3 separate regions of the Homo sapiens genome follow, and regions 2 and 3 are each linked to region 1. The links are contacts of gene promoters, found by promoter capture Hi-C in human tissues and cell types (Jung and others, 2019). All regions are on one chromosome and are shown on one strand. Each heading gives the region's core, a stretch centred on a gene start or on the middle of the fragment in contact. The rest is flanking DNA. Distances are from core to core; before and after follow the strand shown.

Region 1 (3,039 bases), core at 189-2,688:
TCAGTGACAGAAACCAGTCTTCCTGACTCCAAAGTCCACAGTTTCTCTCTCTTTTTTTTTTTTTTTTTTTGAGATGGAGTCTTGCTCTGTCACCCAGGCTGGATGGAGTACAGTAGAGCAATCTCGCTTACTGCAGCCTTCAACTCCTGGGTTCAAGCAATTCTCCTGCTTCAGCCTCCCGAGTAGCCAGCATTACAGGCATGCACCACCATGCCCAGCTGTTTTTTTTTTTTTTTTTTTTTGTTATTTTTAGTAGACACAGGGTTTCCCCATGTTGGCCAGGCTAGTCCTGAACTCCTGACCTCAAGTGATCTGCCTGCCTCTGGCCTGGGATTACAGGCTGTGCCACTGCGCCCAGTCCAAAGTCCATGCTTTCTACAGGACTTTTCCTTTGCTCCTACAGATGTCTGGCCCTAAACAGAAAAAAAGCCTTTTCAGTGTGGCGACCTAAGGGAGAAAAGACATGGCTGCAAATCTACCTTCCAAGGAAATGTGTCTTGGGGAAACATTAATGAAGCAAACTAAGGCCTAAGCTAAGGCCTAAGCACTTAAGTAATAGCTTTACTCAGTGCCCCTGCCACAACCAATAAGGTACTTGAGGCGACTTCAGAGGGGTTGATTTGTCTCTTCAGGAGAGACACACATCTGCCCTGACTCTTAGGGCTTGTTTCTATTAAGTACCCAGCTAGATTAGGATGAAGTCACTTCTACCTTACCGGCTTATCTTCTTAAGAGCAGCTCCCTCTCTGACAAACTGGCCAGATGCTCAGCGTCTGGAAAAGTGAGTGAGAACCTCCAACGTAGGGTAGGTGTTTTGAGGATTTATGAGGTGGGCAATGGTGGGTACTGGGGAAGGAAAACAAAGTGAAGGGCCGGAGATCTAGGTGGGCCCAATTCCGAGAGGCAAGCGAGGCTGCGGGCACTGAGAGGGCAGCGGCAGCCAGTGCTGGGTGACCGTCAGGGTCTCACCTTTCACTGCCAGGCGGATGTTCAAACAGAGTTTGGAGAAGATGCGACTCCTTTCGACGTCCTTCGGACCCTTGATGTGCCTGACTTTGGACCACTTGTTGTGCCCGGCGGGGACAGCCGCGGTAAAGTGCAGCGTCCTGCCCGGAGCGGCACCGCAGCCCCGGGGCTCGGGGTGGGAGGGCCGGGGGTCGCGCGGAGGAGCCGCCCTGACCCCGGGGCCTCGTGCCAGCAAGCATCGGGCAGCGGCCCTGCTTAGGCTGGCAGCAGCCCAAGCCGACATCGGTCCCGACCCTGGGGTTCAAGCTGCTAGCAGCAGCGGCCAACGCCGGCGCGTCTCTTCCACTGCCGGAACAAGCAGTTCCGGACCCCGCGGCCGCCTGTGCCGGTCACCTGAGATCCAAAGGCTTGGGCCCGCCCGGGGCGGCTCAACAGCTAATGACCCTACACTGTCCCCGCGGCACCCGGGACTGGGGGCCCTTGATGGCGTAGCACACTTCCTTTACCGGGTTCGCTCCAAAAACACGTCCCCACTGCCCGCAAAGTCCGTTCCGTGGCTGCACGGTACTCGCTCCTCTCTTGCCCTTGAGCAGATCTAGTTAGTGCTCAAGCCCTCACGGTTGCCTAGAGAGCGCCGGACTTTGTTTCTCATAATGTTTTAGTGGAGACACATCTGAGTTATGAAACTGACTTTGCTTCCAAATTGCTGCCTAAATCTGAGCAAGTCCAGAATGATATTTTGTTGTTGCCTCATTGTACTGGGAAAGAAACTGCTGCCAGAGAAGTGAATTGCCCAAATGTTTAATCTCTCTGAACGTCTTCCCTATTTATAAATAAGGATCTAATATTTGCTTTATCAACATAGGAAAGTTAGAAACACAAAATGAGCCCTTAGAGCTTTAAAGTAATAAAGTTTTATGTAAATAGCCACAGTGCACTTAAGCCCCTAGATGCAAGAGATGGTTTGGGACAGACTCAGATGAGTCACAGGCCTTTGGGAGAGGGAGAATGATCAGACAAGCCCTTTGGAGCTAAACTCCCCTCTTCATTTTCTCTCTGCTGTCTCGAAAGAGAAAACCGAATCCGTTAGAAGATGGAGAGAAACAAAGCGGCAGCTGCTGAAAAGCTTTGTAGTGACTCCCATGCTGGTGAGATTAAGTCCAAAGGGCATGACATATCAGGTAGAGAAGCAGGACAGCCGGGCGCGGTGGCTCACGCCTGTAATCCCAGCACTTTGGGAGGCTGAGGCAGACGGATCGCTAGGTCAGGAGTGCCAGACCAGTCTGACCAACATGGTGAAACCCCGTCTCTACTAAAAATACAAAAAAATTAGCCGGCCGTGGTGGCGCGCGCCTGTAATGCCAGCTACTCAGAAGGATGAGGCAGGAGAATCGCTTGAACCCGGGAAGAGGAGGTTGCAGTGAGCCGAGATCGCGCCACTGCACTCCAGCCTGTGCGACAGAGCGAGAATCCAACTCAAAAAAAAAAAAAAAAAAGAGAGAGAGAGAGAGAGAGAAGCAGGACAGTGTGAAGTCCAAGTTTGTGCCCTCTGCAGTTAGACTGGGTGGCTTCAAACCCTGGTTGTTCCATTTTCTAGTGTATCCTTGGGCAAGTTCCTTTACTTTCCTGTTTCAGTTTCCTTACCATAGAATGGCCTTGTGAGGACTAAATGGGATAATGGATGCAAAGCACAAAAGCATAGATTTTTTATTTTTTATTATATAAGAACCTCCATGGGGCTGGGTGCGGTGGCTCACGCCTGTAATCCTAGCACTTTGGGAGGCCGAGGCTGGCAGATCACTTGAGGTCAGGAGTTCAAGACCAGCCTGGTCAACATGGTGAAACCCCGTCTCTACTAAAAATACAAAAATTAGCCAGGTGCGGTGGGTGCCCATAGCCCTTCATACATGCTTGCACCTTAGCACTTACCTTTTAAAAAAATATCAAAATGTTTATATCTGTTTCTACCGTAATACTAAATTCTCTGAGAGTAGGACTGTACTTCCTATGCCCAACACAGTTCTCATTTTTTAAAAAATTAAGTTTTGACATATTTCACAGATCACACAGATC
Region 2 (2,893 bases), core at 281-2,780, 410 kb after region 1:
TTATTCCATTTAACATTTATATCAACTTCTCTAATAAAGTCACAAGCTGGGGGTCAGAGATAGGGTATATGTGTATTTTTGTGTATTAGTACTGAACTCAAGTTCCATCTGTGAAAAATCTCTACAAAACTCTCACTGAATGTATGTCAAGGTAGAAAAACAAGGCTCTATTTTTCCTCTCCTATTATCCTCCCAGAGGCAACATAAATAGATTTCTTTGCCACAGAACAGAAATAAGAGAATCAGTAGGGTTATTTTTATGTTATAAACATTTAGATAACTTATTTTTTTCTCAAGAACAATTGAAAGCTTCTTATTCCTTGATAAAATGAAAAGGCAAAACTGGTCTCTTCAAATTAATGAGTAACACTTTCCTCCCTCCTAAAGGTTAAACTAACTAATCTTTTGCAAATTTTTCTCATTGTAGATTCCAGACCTCTAGATATTCTGGGGCTCTATTTCACTGTCTCCTACAAAGTTACTCTGATAATAAGTGTTTCCTATGTACATGGTTAACAACAGATACGAGAATTTATACAACACGGAGATATAGTCATTGACTTTGAAAAGTTTATAATCTATATGGAAAATAAGAGTATATATTTATTTAGCATATACTTACATAATGCTTATGATGTACAAGTCACTAGTGTAAACACTTTACATATATTAGCTTAACCTTCATAACTTTAGATTCCACTTTCTAAGGTAGAAATTATTACCCTCATTTTACAGATGAGAAAATAGAGGCACAGATACATTAAATTATTTGCTCAAAGTAATAAAACCAGTAAATGGCAGAGCCAGGATTAGAACTTGAGCTCCCTGACTCCAGAATCTATGCTCCCAATGAGCACAACACAGTGTCTTCCTCACTGGAAAGAAATATTACAAATGGTGAGAATGTCTGAATAAGAGATAACTTGTAATAATAGGCATATTGCTCATAGCATGTTAATCTCAATAATCTTAACAAAGCATGTTGTAAACACTAAGTAAGGTAATCGAATGGAGGTTCTTAAGAGACAGATAACTGCAACCCTTTCTACATTACTACTTTCAGTACTTCCAAGTACTAATGCAGAAAGAAGTTCAAGAATTCTTCTGTGAGTGGCTATATTAGATACTGCTACCACACCAGGTCCTTTTCATCTGGTTTGACTGGTATTTTTTAAACCTTGCTAAATCTACTTTTTCTTTCCTATTTACTTACCTCGTCTCAAAATATCATTTGAGGATGACATTAATATATTATCTGTCGTGCACTCTATAACGAAAGAAATCCGATACCAGGTTATGATACGAAAAAACTATCTTTGGCAATTACATTTGTTTTGAACTTTTCTTATTTGTTGATCTTGAGTAAAATTTTACACATTATGAAAGGCCTAGTAGATGAATTAGTGGGGGCTTCTCAAATAACAGACAGGGACCTAATTGCGAATCCCTCCATCTTAAGTCTTAGATTATCAACGGCTGCCTCTGTCTCCTCTTCCTGAAAGTATGCCAGGATTTCTGGTGGAATAAAGTAGAAACAGTAGAGGCACTTCCTTTCTGGTTTCTAGATTACAGACTTAACTGTCAGTAACCTCTTCCCTATTCCACTTTCATTTCCTATTTTAAAATAAATTAAAAATAGTTACTTCTGAAAACAAACAAGGGTGGGGCCAGGCGCGGTGGCTCATGCTTGAAATCCCAGCACTTTGGGATGCCGAGGCAGGTTGATCACTTGAGCCCAGGAGTTCAAGACCAGCCTGGGCAACGTGGTGAAACCCCGTCTCTGCAAAAAATACAAAAATTGGCTGGGTGTGGTGGCGCGCGCCTGTGGTCCCAGCTACTTAGGAGACTGAGGCAGGAGAACTGCTTGAACCCAGGAGGCCGAGGTAGCAGTTAGCCATGATCATGTCACTGCACTCCAGCCTGGGCAACAGAGCAAGATCCTGTCTGAAAAATAAATAATATATTTTTTTAAAAGGTGGGAATATCTGAAATATATTTTGAAGTTGCTCTGTAGGACCAGATGAACAGCTTCTCACTTGCAGGAATTTATTAGTTTGGTGCAAAAGTAATTGAGGTTTTTGCCATTATGGCACCATTAAAGGTAATGGCAAAAACCACAATTACTTTTGCACCAACATAATAGTGTATTCAAATACTGTATGTTGAAACACAAAGCCAGGTCCTCCCCTCCAAACCATTTCATTTAAAATATGCTTAAAATGTCACCAGGTCACGCATTTTCATTTTTTTCCTACTTAGTGTACGTTGATTCTGCATTCTTCCTTAAATACTACCATTTTTCTTCCCTTTTTGTTTCATTTCTACTTCCCACTTGCAAGTAACTGCTACGATAAAACCTCTCTGCCTGCAAAATGAAAATTTACCAGGAGAAAAAAGTCTGGCCAGTGGAATAAAGATAGCCTTTTTCCCCCTCATTACAATTAACAATAGGGCCATTTGAAGATCACTAAAAGGGAGGATTTAATGGAAATAGTGGTAGCTTAAGAGAGAGAAATCAGTGCTAAATTATCAGGGTTATTGGGTTCTTAATTTTTAAGAACAGAGAAAGTGATTTAAAAAAATTTAAGAAAATTCTTTGACATACTTTAAAGATTGTCTGGTCTTTGGAGGCAATGTGTATTTTAGAATGAGTTTCATCCATATTGTGTGTATCAAATCTTCTTTTTTTGCAGGGGGGAGGGTGCATTATGGTTTTCCATGTTCATGGTTTGGAAGACAATTTTGTTATGATATCAATACTCCCCAAATCAATCTACCAATTTAATGCAATCCTTATCAAAATTCCAGCTGCTTGCTTACTCGCTTCCTTTCCTTCTTCCCTTATTTTTGCAGAAATTGACCAGCTGATCATAAAAATTATATGGAAATATAA
Region 3 (2,959 bases), core at 344-2,843, 490 kb after region 1:
CTCTATTATCTTAGTCTTTTCAAGGAAACTGGCTTTACTGATCAAGTACTAGTTTTTTGCTTATTCATTTTCCCTTTTAACTTTATTGATTACTTCATGTTTACTATGTCTTCCTCGATCTCCTTATTAGTTCATTTATTTTCAGTACTTCTTGTTTTCTAATAAAAGTATTCAAGGTAATGACTTTTCCATAGAGTACCACTTTGGCTACATTTCATAAGTTTTAATACATAATACATGTTAATTTCCAACTTTTTTTTCAATTTTGGTTTCTGTTTTAACCCAAAAGTTATTTTAAAAAGTTATTTTAAAACTTTAAAATTTTAGAAGTAGAAAAGAAATTTCTCCCTATCTTCTTTGTTGTTAGATTCTATTTTGATTTTCAATGAAAAATATGTGCATTGTACAGAGATTTCTTTATGGCCAACTATATAATCAACTTTTTAAAATTTTTTATTTTTATTTATTTATTTATATTTTTTTTGAGATGGAGTCTTGCTCTGTCACCAGGCTGGAGTGCAGCCGCATGATCTTGGCTCACTGCAACCTCTGCCTCACGGGTTCAAGGGATTCTCCTGCCTCAGCCTCCCAAGGAGCTGGGACTACAGGCACATGACACCACACCCAGCTGATTTTTGTATTTTTAGTAGAGATGGAGTTTCACCATGTTGGCCAGGATGGTCTCGATCTCTTGGCCTCTGATCTGCCCGCCTCGGCCTCCCGAAGTGCTGGGATTACAGGCGTGAGCCACAACGTCTGGCCTATAATCAACTTTTATAAACAGTTCACAAGTGCTGGAAAACAATACAAGTATAAGAAATCTTATGTTTTTCAGTATGAGGTTCTACACTCGGCTGAATTAAGCTTTTAAAAACTTGACACATATTAACTTTACATATTTATGGGGTATATGTAATATCTGGATACAGGCATATAATATGTAATGATCAAATCAGGGTAACTGAGATATCCATCACCTCAAACACTTATTTCTTTTTGTTTAGAACATTCCAAGTATTTTAGCAATTCTGAAATATAATGAGTTAAGTTTAATTGCTTATTATTCAAATTATCCATATCCTTTAATGAGCTGTTCATTTTATGAGGCATGAAATCTGCCTTAACTCATTTATGCCTAGTGTTCCACTATTGGAACGCTAAGCTTGTGGGAGTTATTTATATCCTACTGCTCAAGGTCATGGCCAAGGTCTGATTTTTGACATGAAAAAATTTGTAGCCTCTGGCATAAATGGGTTAAATATAAATTCATCAACTTTCCCTTTCATTGCTAATGTTTACTATATGAAGTTTTTATTTTTAAAAAACTTCCTTATTGAGATATAAGTACAATTTAATGGATTTAGTTCATTCACAGAGTTGTACAATTGTCAGCATAATCTAAGTTTAGAACATTTTCATCACCCCAAAATGAAACCCTATACCCTTAAGCATTCACTACCTATACCATCGTTGGTGACCCCTTTCCCTTAGGTAACCACCAATTAACATTCTGTCTCTATAGATTACTTGCCTATTCTGGACATTTCATATAACTGCAATTGTATAACATATGTTCTTTTGTGACTGGTTTCCTTCACTTAGTGTAACGTTTTCAAGGTTCACCATGGATCATGAAAGCATTTATTTTTAATGCCAAATAATACGAATATATCACTTTTTATTTATCCACTCATCAGCTGATGAACATCAAACTGTTTTCACTCTTTGGCTATTATGAATAATGCTGCTATGAACATACATGTACAAGTTTTGGTGTGAACATATGTTTTCTTTTCTCTTGGATAACTTTATACATTTTGATGCCATGTTGTCTCATGCATAAAAAAGCAATAATCGTTAACATCTACTTCATGAATTGTATCTGCATAAAATATCAAATAAAACTTTTTTATTTGTGTTTAATATTATTGCAAATAATACTATCCTTTTCTCAACATTTATTTGGTATATATTTTTCATTCCTTTATTTGTAAGCTTCCTCTCAATTTGTTTAGAAGCATCTATTATAAATAACACTCCCTGGAAATGCTTTTTATACATTCTGATAACTTTGTCTTTATAAGGGAAACTGAAATCACTTTCTTGTGACAAGCAACTTATTTTATCTTATTTGACTTTTAAAAATATTTTTCTTATTGTTTTTCTTCCATTCCAATTTTCATCATAACCTTGCAAATCATCTAACCTGACAGAAATGAAACCACTTCATCTTAAAAGTATCAATGACTTGTTATTTTGGCTCTCTCTTCATTAAGGGTCATTTGGGCACTTTCGCAAACTTTCCCTAGTGGTGGCTGAATAGAGGTAGGAAGACAAGGCTACTATATTTCAAAAGAATACATACAGTAATACTACACTTACTACAAATAATCCTTTTATAAATAAACACTACAATACTATAAATAAAACTTTCACTTTGTATGAGTGACTTCCATTCAAATATGAAAAGAAAAAAAACTAGAAAATTACTTTCTTGTCTAAAACCTCACAGGTTAAATATAAAAAGAGAAGGTTTAATTATTTTGAAATCCAGTGTGTGCAAATATCACAAAAGGATTATTTGTTTGATAATTCATGCCGCCTTTTAGGTGTTCAACATATACGCAGTGGCAAAGGCTCACCCCTTAACCAAACTTTAGTCAGGTTCCTCTGATACCTCTTTTCAACGTTCTTGCGTGGGCCTTGTCCTCACGCCTCCTGGCCCAGTTGTAGCAAGAATCCTGCTAACTCAGTTTAGTGAGAATCCCCCTACCCTTGATAATCTGGTCAACATGGCTTGCCTTCAGCAAGGCACTGTTTAGTTGGTTCGGCAATAATCCCCTTACTCTTGAAGCTTCCTCTTAATAATTTTCCATCCACTGATTCTATCCTCTGCCCCACTCTGCTCCTTAGCTATAAATCCCCAACATTCTTTACTATATTCAGAATTGAGCCCAGT

The links. The method cuts DNA at HindIII sites, captures the fragments that hold promoters and counts their contacts. A contact is called where the count stands out against the background at its distance.
Region 2: a contact is called between a fragment that was not itself captured here and the fragment with the promoter of TACO1 in region 1, in 1 of the 25 tissues and cell types used here (hippocampus).
Region 3: a fragment that was not itself captured here is called in contact with the fragment with the promoter of TACO1 in region 1 in 2 of the 25 tissues and cell types used here (dorsolateral prefrontal cortex and hippocampus).

Annotation. Positions count from the first base shown.
Region 1 is chr17:63,599,294-63,602,332 of GRCh38, reverse strand. TACO1 (translational activator of cytochrome c oxidase I) reads right to left here and starts at 1,438. Exons shown (of 5, transcript NM_016360.4): 1 at 970-1,438. The coding sequence starts at 1,249. The HindIII fragment of the contact is 17,557 bases long and covers 1-3,039 here.
Region 2 is chr17:63,190,535-63,193,427 of GRCh38, reverse strand. All of the region lies in intron 5 of TANC2 (tetratricopeptide repeat, ankyrin repeat and coiled-coil containing 2), which reads right to left. Among named protein-coding and RNA genes, the nearest start is that of TANC2, 230 kb to the right of the region's middle. The HindIII fragment of the contact is 6,153 bases long and covers 1-2,893 here.
Region 3 is chr17:63,106,333-63,109,291 of GRCh38, reverse strand. The region is part of intron 4 of TANC2 (tetratricopeptide repeat, ankyrin repeat and coiled-coil containing 2); the gene reads right to left. Among named protein-coding and RNA genes, the nearest start is that of TANC2, 140 kb to the right of the region's middle. The HindIII fragment of the contact is 4,415 bases long and covers 1-2,959 here.